Regions from separate parts of the Homo sapiens genome. Here regions 2 and 3 are each linked to region 1. Evidence: promoter capture Hi-C in human tissues and cell types (Jung and others, 2019). All regions are on one chromosome and are shown on one strand. Each heading gives the region's core, a stretch centred on a gene start or on the middle of the fragment in contact. The rest is flanking DNA. Distances are from core to core; before and after follow the strand shown.

Region 1 (4,078 bases), core at 935-3,434:
ACCGCACCCCGTCATTTCTGAAATTTTATGATTAAGAAAATATAATGAAACACAATCCTATTATTGAAGTGAAAAGGACAGTTTAGTTGAACAGATACTTGTTAAATTCCTACTGTTTCAGATTCTCTTCTAAGCATTGAAGAGAAACAAATATGAGTCATTGTCATTGACTCTGACATTGTCACTGACAAGTAACAGATTATATCAGTACAATACACTTCTATCTATCTCTCATCCTATTCCTCTCATCTATTCATCACCCTAGTCTAAATCACCATCATCTTGGCCCTGGATTACTGCCTCCTAACTATACTCCTGAATCTAATCAGATTGCCCTACTGCCTATTCTCCAAATAGCAGTCAGTGTCAACACACATCTAATCATGTCACTCTCCTACTTAAAAATTCTTCAGTGGTTTCCCATAGATCTCAGAACAAAAACCAGAATCCTTAAGGTGGTCTGTAAGGTCTGGCTTCCACCCACGTCTGCTTCACTGGGCTTATTTCACAAGATATTCTGCCTGGCTCATCCATGCCACAGCCACACTGAGCTGCTTGGCCTTTTCTTGTCACCATGCTCCTCACCACTGGCCTTTCCATGTGCTGTTCCTTCTACCTAGAACCATCTTCAATCCCCTCTTCACTTAGTTAACATCTACTTATCCTTCAGAACTCAACAGCCACTTCACCTGGGAAGACTTCCTGACTAGGTCAAATACTCTTATAGGCTCAGAGAGCACCCTGCTCTCCCCTTCCTGGACACAAATTTTACTTTTGCTTGTTCCTTATTTGATTAATGTCTTTCTGTCTACACCAGAGGTTGCAAACAGGTAGTCAAGAGGCTGAATTCAGCCCACAAATTTCTTTTGTTTGGTTCATAGTATTTAAAGAGCTTTTGAATTAGTTGCTAAAATTGAGAAATTTCACAAAAATAATTTCTAAAGTCTCTTCTTGGGAGGAAAAAAAATGACCTGTTATCATCTGCAGACCATCATTCTTACATGGCAATACATTCCAATTCACCAGAATCTACTTCTCTCTATTGTAGGATACCCACCCACTTCATTATTAAGGTTTTGTGTCTTACGTCTGTAAATATGTATGATTTTCACCTCTGCCCAAGAAGGCAAGCCTCTCTCTTTCCAAGTTCAAGAACCTGACTGGTGTTGCTCAATGTTGTATCTTCAGGGCCTAGCATGTGGTTGGTGCCCAATATTTACTGAATTAAAACTTGAAAGCAGTGAACAGAACAAATATAGAGCATTTAATCTTAAATGTCAAGCACTGTCCTTCTAGTCTCCTGTGTATTATTTCACGCGGATAACAACCCCATGAGGTAAAGTTTACATGGGAACTAAGGACCCAGACAGATTAAATAATTATCCGAGGCCTCACAACCACTAAATAAGCGGCCATGGCTCAATTTTCCTCCATGACCCCTAATAAGGGGTCTTAGAAGGCCCCATTATTAAGTTCACGATAACAATCTGTGAAATCCTGGAAGATAAACATAACACCGCCACACACACAAAGACACCTACGGGTTTCATTCTGCATCATAAGCTAAAGCGCCACAAGAGCAATGACAGCTCAAGGCTAGGAGACTCGGAGTATGGGGCCTGGAATAGGGGCAGGCAGCCTTCGCTCCGCTGCCTCCCTGCGCTTGCTCCGAGGCGCAAAGGCCTCACCAGGTGTGCAGCATCCAAAGAGCCCCACCGTGGCCACCCCCAGACGCCCCGCTCAGCAGGAAGGGCTGCGAGCCAGAGCGCATCCTCCAGCACAGCGCCTTTTTGATAAGCGGCGCAGGCCCCACGGGATGCAGCAGCGACGAGGGCGGCAGGGCCTGACCCCAGGTCCCTGTCGAGGCCGGCCGGACCCCCGCGGCCCCGGGGCTGACCAGCCAGGCTCTCCAACCACCTCCACCGCACGACCGAGCCTGCCCCGCCCCACCCAGGCCGCCTGCCGGCTCCGCGCCTCCATGGCAACGGCCGCGCCCCCGGGCCAGGCCGCTAGGATGAGAAGAAACCCCAGAAGCGAAGCGACTCTCCTCACCGGCATCTTGGCCCCCTCCCGTGCCCGGCGGACGTCCCCGCCCGGGGTGCAGCCCAGCGACACCGGGTGCGCAGAAAGGATGGCCAGAGACTACCGAAACACCTCGTTGACGCTCTCGAGACTGCGGCTTCTCGGGCGAGAGCGCCCAGTGCGCAGCCGCATTCCGAGCTCGCCCCGCCCCAAGCCCAGTCTCAGGCTCTCTCGGCCCTTGAATTACGCCTGCGCGGAGGCTTTCCGAGTCCATCTCCTAGGACGCCAGACTGAGGCCGCGCGTGCGCAATGCTGCCATTCTGCTGCGCTAGAAATGTGGCACGCACTGAGGCGGAGGTAACCTGGCAGCCCGGGGTTGGGAGGAGGAGCTGCTCTTAGGCCCGTCTTCTGGCCCTTGCAATACCCGGAATATTAAAATCAGTAATAGCAATTGTACATTTTGTCTCATCCGAAGAATTGAAGACCTTACCTACCTGACCTCGCTTGATTGCTAACTTCCTCATGACCTGTCTTACCATTAGAAAGTGAGCTCTCTTAAGGAGATTGTTAGTATTCTCACATCTATCTCCAGAGCCCACACAGAGCCTGGCACAGAGTGGGATTTTTATACGTGTTGGTCAAAGAACCAGTGATCCGTCCATCCTCTTTCTAGTCCACTTGAATGTGTAATGGGCATTTCAAGTTAATCATGTCCAGAATTGAAATCTTGATCCCCCATCAATCGCCCCACTACCCACTCCACCCCCATCAAAAAATTTAAAAGGGCTCTCTCTCATCCCTCTCAGACTTTCTTCATCTCAATATGTGGGAGCTTAATTCCGACAACTGCTCAGGTCAAAATTGCAGTCTCTTTCATACACAATATTCTATCTTTAAATACAGCCTGTTGTATCTATCTTTGTAGTGGAACCAGAATTTGGCCACTTCTACCACCACCATCGTCTCTCACGTGCATTACTACAATCGCTCAGAACTGGTTTCCTTGATTGTGTGTCCTTGTCCCTTTTCAGTGTGCTGGACAGGAGCCAGAGTGCTGGTGCTAAAACATGAATCAGATCTTCTCTTTTCTCTGCTCAAAACCCTCCATTGATTTCCCATCTTACAAAGCTAAAGCCACAAGCCCTACAATCCTCCCTCTTGCTTCTTCTGCACCAGCCCCACCTGGCCTCCTTGCTTCATCCAACATTCCCGTCGTGCTTCCATCTTAGCATGCAAGGGCTGTGAGCTTGCAGTAGGAACTGATAGAAATAAAGATAAAGCATTTTACATAGTGCCAGTGTACTGTTCTACATGCTTTCGTTTTTTAATTCATTTAATCCACACAATAACCTTTTGAAATAGATACTATTTATTATTATTTTACAGATAAAGTAATTGAGGCACAGGACCATTAAATAACTTTTCCAAGGTCATACATATAAACAATGGCAGAGCCCAGGTCCAAACCCAGGCAGCCTAGACAGCTCTTTCCCTAAAAAACCACCTGACCACTCACCTCCTCCAGAAAGTCTTTGTTCACATAACCCCAGTGAACCCTAACATGATTTCCTTATTTAAAATTTCAACCTTCAGCCCAAACTCTTCTTTTTTTCCCTCCCCACTTTATATTTCTCCATAGTACCTATCACCATTCAATATTTTATATATACACACATACAAGCTTTACTGAGATATAATTTACACACCATACCATACAATCACCGATTTAAATTGTACAAGTCAATAGTTCTTACTATATATGGAGTTGTGCAACCATAACCTAGAACATTTTTATCATTCCAAAAAGACATTCTGTACTCATAAGCCACTCCCCCTTGCTCTCTGCAACCCTCCTCCCACCCCACTCCCAACATCCCAGACCTAGACAACCCACCAATCTACTTTCTATCTCTGTGGATTTGCCTATTCTGGACATTTCATATAAATGAAATTACACAATATGCAGCCTTTTGTGAGTAACTTCTTTCACTTACAAAGTTTTCAAGCTGTATCCCTATTATAGCATATATCAGCAATTTGTTACTTTTTATGGCTG
Region 2 (4,078 bases), core at 1,014-3,513, 150 kb before region 1:
CAATATCATTACCCAACCTTACAGTTCTGTATTAATATTTTTAAAAATTGACATCTTTCTAGAGAATTTTTAAAATTTGCAGAAAGTTTTTGAAGCATTCAAAAATTGCACAGAATTTGGAATTGATCCATAACATGTTCATATATTTGCAAATGAGTATACCTTCCTCAACCCGGTGATTTATAAGAAAGGCCTACAGGAAATTCCATTCATTCATTTAATAAGCATTTATTGGGTGTCTTCTTTGTACCAGGGTATACTGTGCTTGGGTACAAAGAGGACTACAACTGCACCCCTGTCCTTAAGGTATTCCTAGTCTAAATAAGAGCATTCTTAAAAATGGCTATTTGCTATGTTTTAGATAGTAGATTTTTTAAAGTCATTAAAAAATTTATTGATTTGGTTTTTAAAAAACTCACCTGTAAATACCAGTATAGATCTTTGAATCATGAAGTAGAAAATATATATATATTTTTAATGATGGCCATGCATAGAAATATATTGCAAGGGCTTCTGGGAGGAGGTAGGGCTGAGGTGGGCCTTGAAGAATGGGAAGAAATCAAGTCAGCAAACTAGAAGACATTTTATACATGTTTGTATTTATTTATTTATTTATTTTTGAGATGGAGTTTCACTTTTGTTGCCCAGGCTGGAGTGCAGTGGCACGATCTCGGCTCACTGCAACCTCTGCCTCCCGGGTTCAAGCAATTCTCCCACTTAGCCTCCAGGGTAGCTGGGATTACAGGCATGAGCCACCACGCCCGGCTAAATAAAAAAAAAAAATAGAATTTTTTGTATTTTTAGTAGAGACGGGGTTTCTCCATGTTGGTCAGGCTGGTCGCGAACTCCCGACCTCAAGTGATCTGCCCGCCTCGGCCTCCCAAAGTGCAGGGATTACAGGCGTGAGCCACCGCACCTGGAAATGTTTGTATTTATTTTGACTTTTCTTTTAAAAGTAATATGTGCCCCTAGTAAAAAAGTTATAAAAGGATATTAGGTGAAAAGTAAAAGATAGTCTTCCATTTCTCATCTCTAACCTTCCAGAGTATATTTTACCTGCAACTTTTTTTAACTGCATATATACAATACATATGTATATACAAACATTCACTTGTATGTATGTGCATATTTACCTTTACAAGCTTAATCAGAACAGGATTATGAGAGGAAGAGTCTGGGTTAAGTAAATCAATATAAAAGGAGTAAATGACCAATATGAATCGGGGTCAGATTATAGAAAGCTAATGGATTTCAGACTTAGTTCAATAGACAGAAGAGTGGAAGACTATGTTATATTTTAGGATGAGTTGTCCTGATAACTCTGTGTGGGTCCCGTGGTAATTACCAAGATATTAGAACAGATTTCCTTTTTTTTTCTTCTTTCCCCCTTGCCCCACTCCACGTTTTATTTTCTTGAGGAGCATCTTGGTTGGAGAGATGACAAGCACATGTAATGGTAAGGCAGAGAAAAAAACAAGACCTGTAGGAGCTCTGAGGATAAAGAAAGAGAATTTCTATCTGAGGTAGCCAGAGAGGATTTCATAGGACTGAATTTGGCCATGACTTTTTTGATCATAAATGAGTAAGTCATTGGAGACATAGAGACAGTAAAATCCAAGCTGTCTTTGAACACTGTCAAGGAAATCCATATTGTTGAAATGAAGCATTTATATTGGAAATGATGTCAAGGTAGGGCTAAATGATAATACCTAGGATTTAGTGAGTGGTGCCAAGATTCTAACCAAGGCTGTAGCAGAGGTTGAGGTATTTATTTACTTGTTTGTGTTTAATTGTGAGTAATTCTCCAAGGGTTTAATATTCTTCTCTGTATCCTCAGAGCCTAGCCTAGTGCCTGGCACATAGCAGGTGGTTCAATAAATGTTTATTAAGTAGATGACTTCCAAAGTCCTTTTTTTTAGCTCTGACATGTGAAGATTCTTCCCTTCATAGAACCCAATTAAAGTTTGGGTCAAATCACCTTCCCAGAAAAGACTACGTCCTTTCAACCATGCACTAGAATGCATCCTTTCCCATTTTTACTGATTCCCTTTATCTTCGGGAACTCTCACTCTCTCATAAACTACTTTATTACCATCCCACCATATCCTGTCCTCTTTTTTTGGCCTACTTAGATCTGTTTTCCTTTCTTGCCTTAAATGGGAATTGCTAGAGGAATATGTTTCTAACTTTTTTTTTCTGCACACAAGTTCATGGTCCTTCTATACTTGATAGCCCAGCTGCTCTATTTTTTTTATCTCATTTCACACTGGCACCTAAGCTTTAAACCCTTGGCTGTTTTTGTTATTGTTGTCTGCCTGCTTGTCCTAGCTCCTTTTACTAGGTGTGTACTCTGGGGATAGAACCTATGTTTTGTGCTCTGAGATTAGAACCAAAACACAGATGTCAAAGAAGGAATTCAGGGGATCTGGTGACTGGCTGGATTTAAGGAATGAAGCAGGTAGAGATGTCATGAAAGATCCAAGCCCAGATGATTATCATAATGTTTGTGCTACCAAGAGGCAGTGAAAACACTGATGGAAAGAAACTGAGCACTTTGTAGAGTATCATAGTAGAGCTGTTAGTATTCATTGCTCTTAAGTATCCATCCAGTTATATTTGTTAGACTCTACTCAAAAGGTATTTTCTGAGTACAGAATTTTTTTCACAAGTGGTGCAAATGGTCTCATTAATTGAATGTTTACTGCCTAACACTAACCCGAGTGCTTTAAAATGTATAATGTAAACTCCATAGTAACTGTGAGGTTGTATAGGCAGGAAAACTGAGGTACAGGTATTCACAGTGGAAATAAGGGTTAAAGGTAGGATTTGAGTCCTCTGATTCCTAAGTTTATACCTTTTTTTCTTTTTAAGTCAAGTTTATTAAGGTATAATATATATATGGTAAAATCCACCCTTTTTAGAGTATAAATTCTATGAGTTAGGACATATGCATACAGTAGCATAACCATCACTAAAATGAAGATGTAGAATATTTCAGTCACTCCAAAAAGTTCTCTCAAAGTCCTTGCAGTCAGTCCTCTCCCCTGCTCCCATCCATAGTAACCACTAATTTGTTTTCTGTCATTATAGTTTTGCCTTTTCCAGAGAGTGGCACATATATAGAATCATACAGTATGCAGACTTTTGTGTCTGGGATTTATCTATGTTGCTGCATGTGTGAGTAATTCATTCCTTTTTTTTTTTTTTTTTTTTGAGACGGAGTTTCACTCTTATTGCCCAGGCTGGAGTGCAATGGCATGATCTCGGCTCACTGCAACCTCCGTCTCCCAGGTTCAAGCAATTCTCCTACCTCAGCCTCCCAAGTAGCTGGGATTACAGGCATGTGCCACCATACCCAGCTAATTTTTTTTGTATTTTTAGTAGAGACGGGGTTTCTCCATGTTGGTCAGGCTGGTCTCGAACTCCCAACCTCAGATGATCTGCCCACCTCGGCCTCCCAAAGTGCTGGGATTACAGGTGTGAGCCACTGTGCCCGGCAATTCATTCCTTTTTATTGTGGAGGAGCATTCCTTCCATTGTATGCATGTATTATAATTTTTTTCCTCATCCATTCTGTGGCTGATGGACATTAAGTTGTTTTTGGTTGAACTAGTTTACAGTCCCTCCAACAGTGTAAAAGTGTTCCTCTTTCTCCACATCCTCTCCAGCACCTGTTGTTTCCTGATTTTTATTGATCGCCATTCTAACTGGTGTGAGATGATATCTCATTGTGGTTTTGATTTGCATTTCTCTGATGGCCAGTGATGATGAGCATTTTTTCATGTGTCTGTTGTCTGCATAAATCTCTTCTTTTGAGAAGTGTCTGTTCATATCCTTCACCCACTTTTTGATGGGGTTGTTTGTTTTTTTCTTGTAAATTTGTTTGAGTTCTTTGTAGATTCTGGATATTAGCCCTTTGTCAGATGAGTTGATTGCAAAAATGTTCTCCCATTCTGTAGGTTGCTTGTTCACTCTGATGGTAGTTTCTTTTGCTGTGCAGAAGCTCTTTAGTTTAATTAGAACCCATTTGTCAGTGTGGCGATTCCTCAAGGATCTAGAAATAGAAATACCATTTGAC
Region 3 (4,078 bases), core at 605-3,104, 130 kb before region 1:
TGTTGCCACAGGTCAGGTTGGCATTTCTTGGTCATAGTTTGCATTTTTAAAAAATCATTAAGTAATAGCCACTTGAGTTTCTGGTTATTCTTTAAGTTTATAATAAGACTCCTATTAGAGACCAGTTTAATTTATTCTACTGCTTTGTCATACTAATTCAATATAATTTTAAATAAGAATTTGGAATATTTCTGAAGTAAATTTTTTTTAAAAGATTAAATACATATTATTGTTTCAGAGGCATCAGCAAAAATAGTTGTCAGTACCTGCCATGGAGGTGGTAATTCATTAGCTACAGTAGTGAGTACCAGTAAAATGGGTTGACATTTTGTACCTTAAACCCATGTAGCATTTCACTTAGTGGCTGGCTTCCTTCCTTTTTTTCCTGTAATTTAAAAAATTTTTATTTTGAAATAATGTTAGGATTACAGAAAAATTATAAAAATAATACAAATTATTCATATATATCCCTCATCCAGCTCCTCCTGATGTTAACAATTTATGTACTCTGTTATAATACAGTTATCAAAACCAGGATTAACATTGATATAATGCTACTAACTAAATTACAGACCATATCGAATTTAGCAGTTTTTCCATCAATGCCTTTTCTGTTTCAGGGTTCCATGCAGGATCCCACGTAGCATCTAGTTGTTATTTCTCCTTAGGCTCCTGCAGTCTGTAACAATCTGTCTTTATCTTTCATGACCTTAACACTTTTGGTCAATATGACCAGTTCATTAGTAGAATATTTCTCAGTTTGACAAACACCACAGTAATAATTATTGCAAGCAAGATCTGTCAGTGGATACTAAAATCAGTAGGCAGAAAGTTGAGAAGCAAGATATTTACATAGTCTCAACATTTCTCTCCTAAGATACTTGTTAATTACAAAGACTAAAACAGTAACTTTACAGTGGAGAAACCTGGCCAACACCATCTAAGCCAAGTGAATAAGGATTAACATCATCAGTAATAAGACATATTGATATCATGATTCCATATCCACTGATATGATACCCTGAAAAGAACACAATGTCACTTCTGTGGTATTCTTCCTAAAAATACATAACCTCAGTCTAACTGTGAGAAACATCAGATACTTTATTTTTAATTGTGTTTTCTATTTAGGCAAAGCATAATTGATTTGAAGGAGAAGGAAATACCAGAATTAAGAAACAAACTGCAGAATGTCAATAGAGACATACAGCGCCTAAAGAACGACATAGAAGAACAAGAAACACTCTTGGGTACAATAATGCCTGAAGAAGAAAGTGCCAAAGTATGCCTGACAGATGTTACAATTATGGAGAGGTTCCAGGTAAGTTTATTGTAGTTTAAGGCAGAATAAAACTTGTTCCATGGTGGCTTGAATTTGAAGTGTGAGAGTTAAAAATAGTAGCTAGTATTCAGGTACAGGTTGTGTTTAGAATTCCCCATCCTGAATTTCAGATACCCTCAGGGAGAAACTGCTTAGTTTACATCCCTGGGTTTAAACTTTTTAATTCATAAATTTAAAAATTAAGACAGTTCTGTTTGTTTTTCATCTTTAGTCAGCTTCCTTTTGTTTACATCATTTGAATTGCTGATAATTAATTTCACTTTTATCCTATTAAACTTTGCTAAAATTGTATCTAGAAATGGTTTATAAGTTTAGATTTAAAAAATAAATGATAAGAGCAATTAATTTTTAAAGATTTTGAATAATGCAGTAAGTTTATTAAAGGAAATCATTTTGTTATATTCTTAAGATGGAACTTAAAGATGTTGAAAGAAAAATTGCACAACAAGCAGCTAAGCTACAAGGAATAGACTTAGATCGAACTGTCCAACAAGTCAACCAGGAGAAACAAGAGAAACAGCACAAGTTAGACACAGGTAATACAGTCTGTGTCCTTCTGTACTCATAGAGACTTTGACATTGCGAGCACATGCCTTTTACAGTCAATTTTATATCTGTTACATGGACAACGAAGTTCCTTCCTGTCCACATATATTTGCTCTTTTTTTCTGAAAAGCATCACTTCTCTTTGTTCTCTTACTTTGCACAACAGATTTTGAACAGTAGGAGAGTATGAAATAAGCTGTATTCTCTTTTCCTTTTTTTTTTTTTTAAGATAGAGTTTCACTTTTGTCGCCCAGGCTGGAGTGCAATGGTGCAATCTTGGCTCACTGCAACCTCCGCCTCCCGGGTTCAAGTGATTCTCCTGCCTCACCCTCCTGAGTAGCTGGGGTTACAGGCACACATCACTATGCCCAGCTAATTTTTGTATTTTTTCGTAGAGATGGGGTTTCACTGTGTTTGTCAGGCTGATCTCGAACTCCTGACCTCAGGTGATCCACCTGCCTCAGTCTCCCAAAGTGCTGGGATTACAAGTGTGAGCCAGTGCGCCTGGCCATGAGCTGTATTCTTTCTCATTCATACCTGCCCTGTAAGCTTTCCCTGTGAGTGGCCAGCAGGGAACATCAAGCTGATTTGAGAACTAGCAGGGTTCTCATTGTATTTTTGTTGCAGTGGGTGGGGCCCACAGAAATAGCATTTGTGGATTCCATAGACCGATAAAAATGGGAAGAATGATACAAATAGTATTTTCTATGCCCTTACATTAATTACTGTGATAATATGTTTTTGTGTAGTTTCTAGTAAGATTGAATTGAATCGTAAGCTTATACAGGACCAGCAGGAACAGATTCAACATCTAAAAAGTACAACAAATGAGCTAAAATCTGAGAAACTTCAGATATCCACTAATTTGCAACGTCGTCAGCAACTGGAGGAGCAGACTGTGGAATTATCCACTGAAGTTCAGTCTTTGTACAGAGAGATAAAGGTAAGAATATCCATACATGTTTTTTGTAAAATTATTTTAATTATTTATTTTTATTTTTATTTTTTGAGACAGTCTCGTTCTGTCACCCAGGCTGGAGTGCAGTAGCACGATCTCGGCTCACTGCAACCTCCATCTCCTGGGTTCAAGTGATTCTCTTGCCTCAGCCTCTGGAGTAGCTGGGATTACAGGCGTGCACCACCATGCCTGGCTAATTTTTGTTCTTTTAGTAGAGACGGGTTTTCGCCATTGGACAAGCTGGTTTCAAACTCCTGAACTAAGGTGATCCGCCTACCTTGGCCTCCCAAAGTGCTGGGATTACAGGCGTGAGCCAGCATGCCCCGCCCCATTCTTCTCTTTTAGAGACAGAGTCTTCATCAGTCTTCCAAGCTGGAATGCAGTGGTACAGTCACAGCTCACTCACTGCAGCCTCGACCTCCTGAGCTCAAGCAATCCTCCTGCCTCAGCCTCTCAAGTAGATGGGACTACAGGCACACACCACCACGCCTGGCTAATTTTTAAAATTTTTCTAGAGACAGGGTCTCACTATGTTGTTCAGGCTGGTCTCAAACTCATGGCCTCAAGCAATGCAGCCTTGGCCTCCCAAAATTACAGGCTTACATCACCTCACCCAGCCCATGTTTCTTTAATATGAAATGCTCTTTATTAGTGTAATGGCCAGAACTCTCAGCACCTCATCGCACTTATTCTAAAATTGACCACATAATTGGAAGTAAAACACTCTCAGCAAATGCAAAAGAACAGAAATCATAACAAACAGTCTCTCAGACCACAGTGCAATCAAATTAGAACTCAGGATTAAGAAACTCACTCAAAACCGCACAACTACAAGGAAACTGAACAACCTGCTCCCGAATGACTACCGGTTAAATAACGAAATGAAGGCAGAAATAAAGATGTTCTTTGAAACCAGTGAGAACAAAGATACAATGTACCAGAATCTCTGAGACACATTTAAAGCACTGTGTAGAGGGAAATTTATAGCACTAAATGCCCACAAGAGAAAGCAGGAAATAACTGAATTCAACACCTTAACATCAAAATTAAAAGAACTAGAGAAACAAGAGCAAACAAATTCAAAAGCCAGCAGAAGACAAGAAATAACTAAGATTAGAGCAGAACTGAAGGAGATACACGAAAAACCCTTCAAAAAAATCAATGAATCCAGGAACTGGTTTTTTAAAAAGATCAACAAAATAGACCACTAGCAAGACTAATACAGAAGAAAA

Evidence for each region. The method cuts DNA at HindIII sites, captures the fragments that hold promoters and counts their contacts. A contact is called where the count stands out against the background at its distance.
Region 2: a fragment that was not itself captured here is called in contact with the fragment with the promoter of KIF3A in region 1 in 1 of the 25 tissues and cell types used here (lymphoblastoid cells).
Region 3: a fragment that was not itself captured here is called in contact with the fragment with the promoter of KIF3A in region 1 in 1 of the 25 tissues and cell types used here (mesenchymal stem cells).

What each region holds. Positions count from the first base shown.
Region 1 is chr5:132,735,362-132,739,439 of GRCh38, forward strand. KIF3A (kinesin family member 3A) reads right to left here and starts at 2,185. Exons shown (of 19, transcript NM_001300791.2): 1 at 2,053-2,185. The coding sequence starts at 2,058. RefSeq lists an enhancer at 1,490-1,589 and a silencer at 1,740-2,049. The HindIII fragment of the contact is 7,994 bases long and covers 657-4,078 here.
Region 2 is chr5:132,580,498-132,584,575 of GRCh38, forward strand. The region is part of intron 5 of RAD50 (RAD50 double strand break repair protein); the gene reads left to right. Among named protein-coding and RNA genes, the nearest start is that of RAD50, 26 kb to the left of the region's middle. The HindIII fragment of the contact is 3,914 bases long and covers 307-4,078 here.
Region 3 is chr5:132,602,169-132,606,246 of GRCh38, forward strand. It overlaps RAD50 (RAD50 double strand break repair protein), which reads left to right. Exons shown (of 25, transcript NM_005732.4): 14 at 1,132-1,321; 15 at 1,752-1,878; 16 at 2,638-2,831. Among named protein-coding and RNA genes, the nearest start is that of RAD50, 47 kb to the left of the region's middle. The HindIII fragment of the contact is 3,550 bases long and covers 80-3,629 here.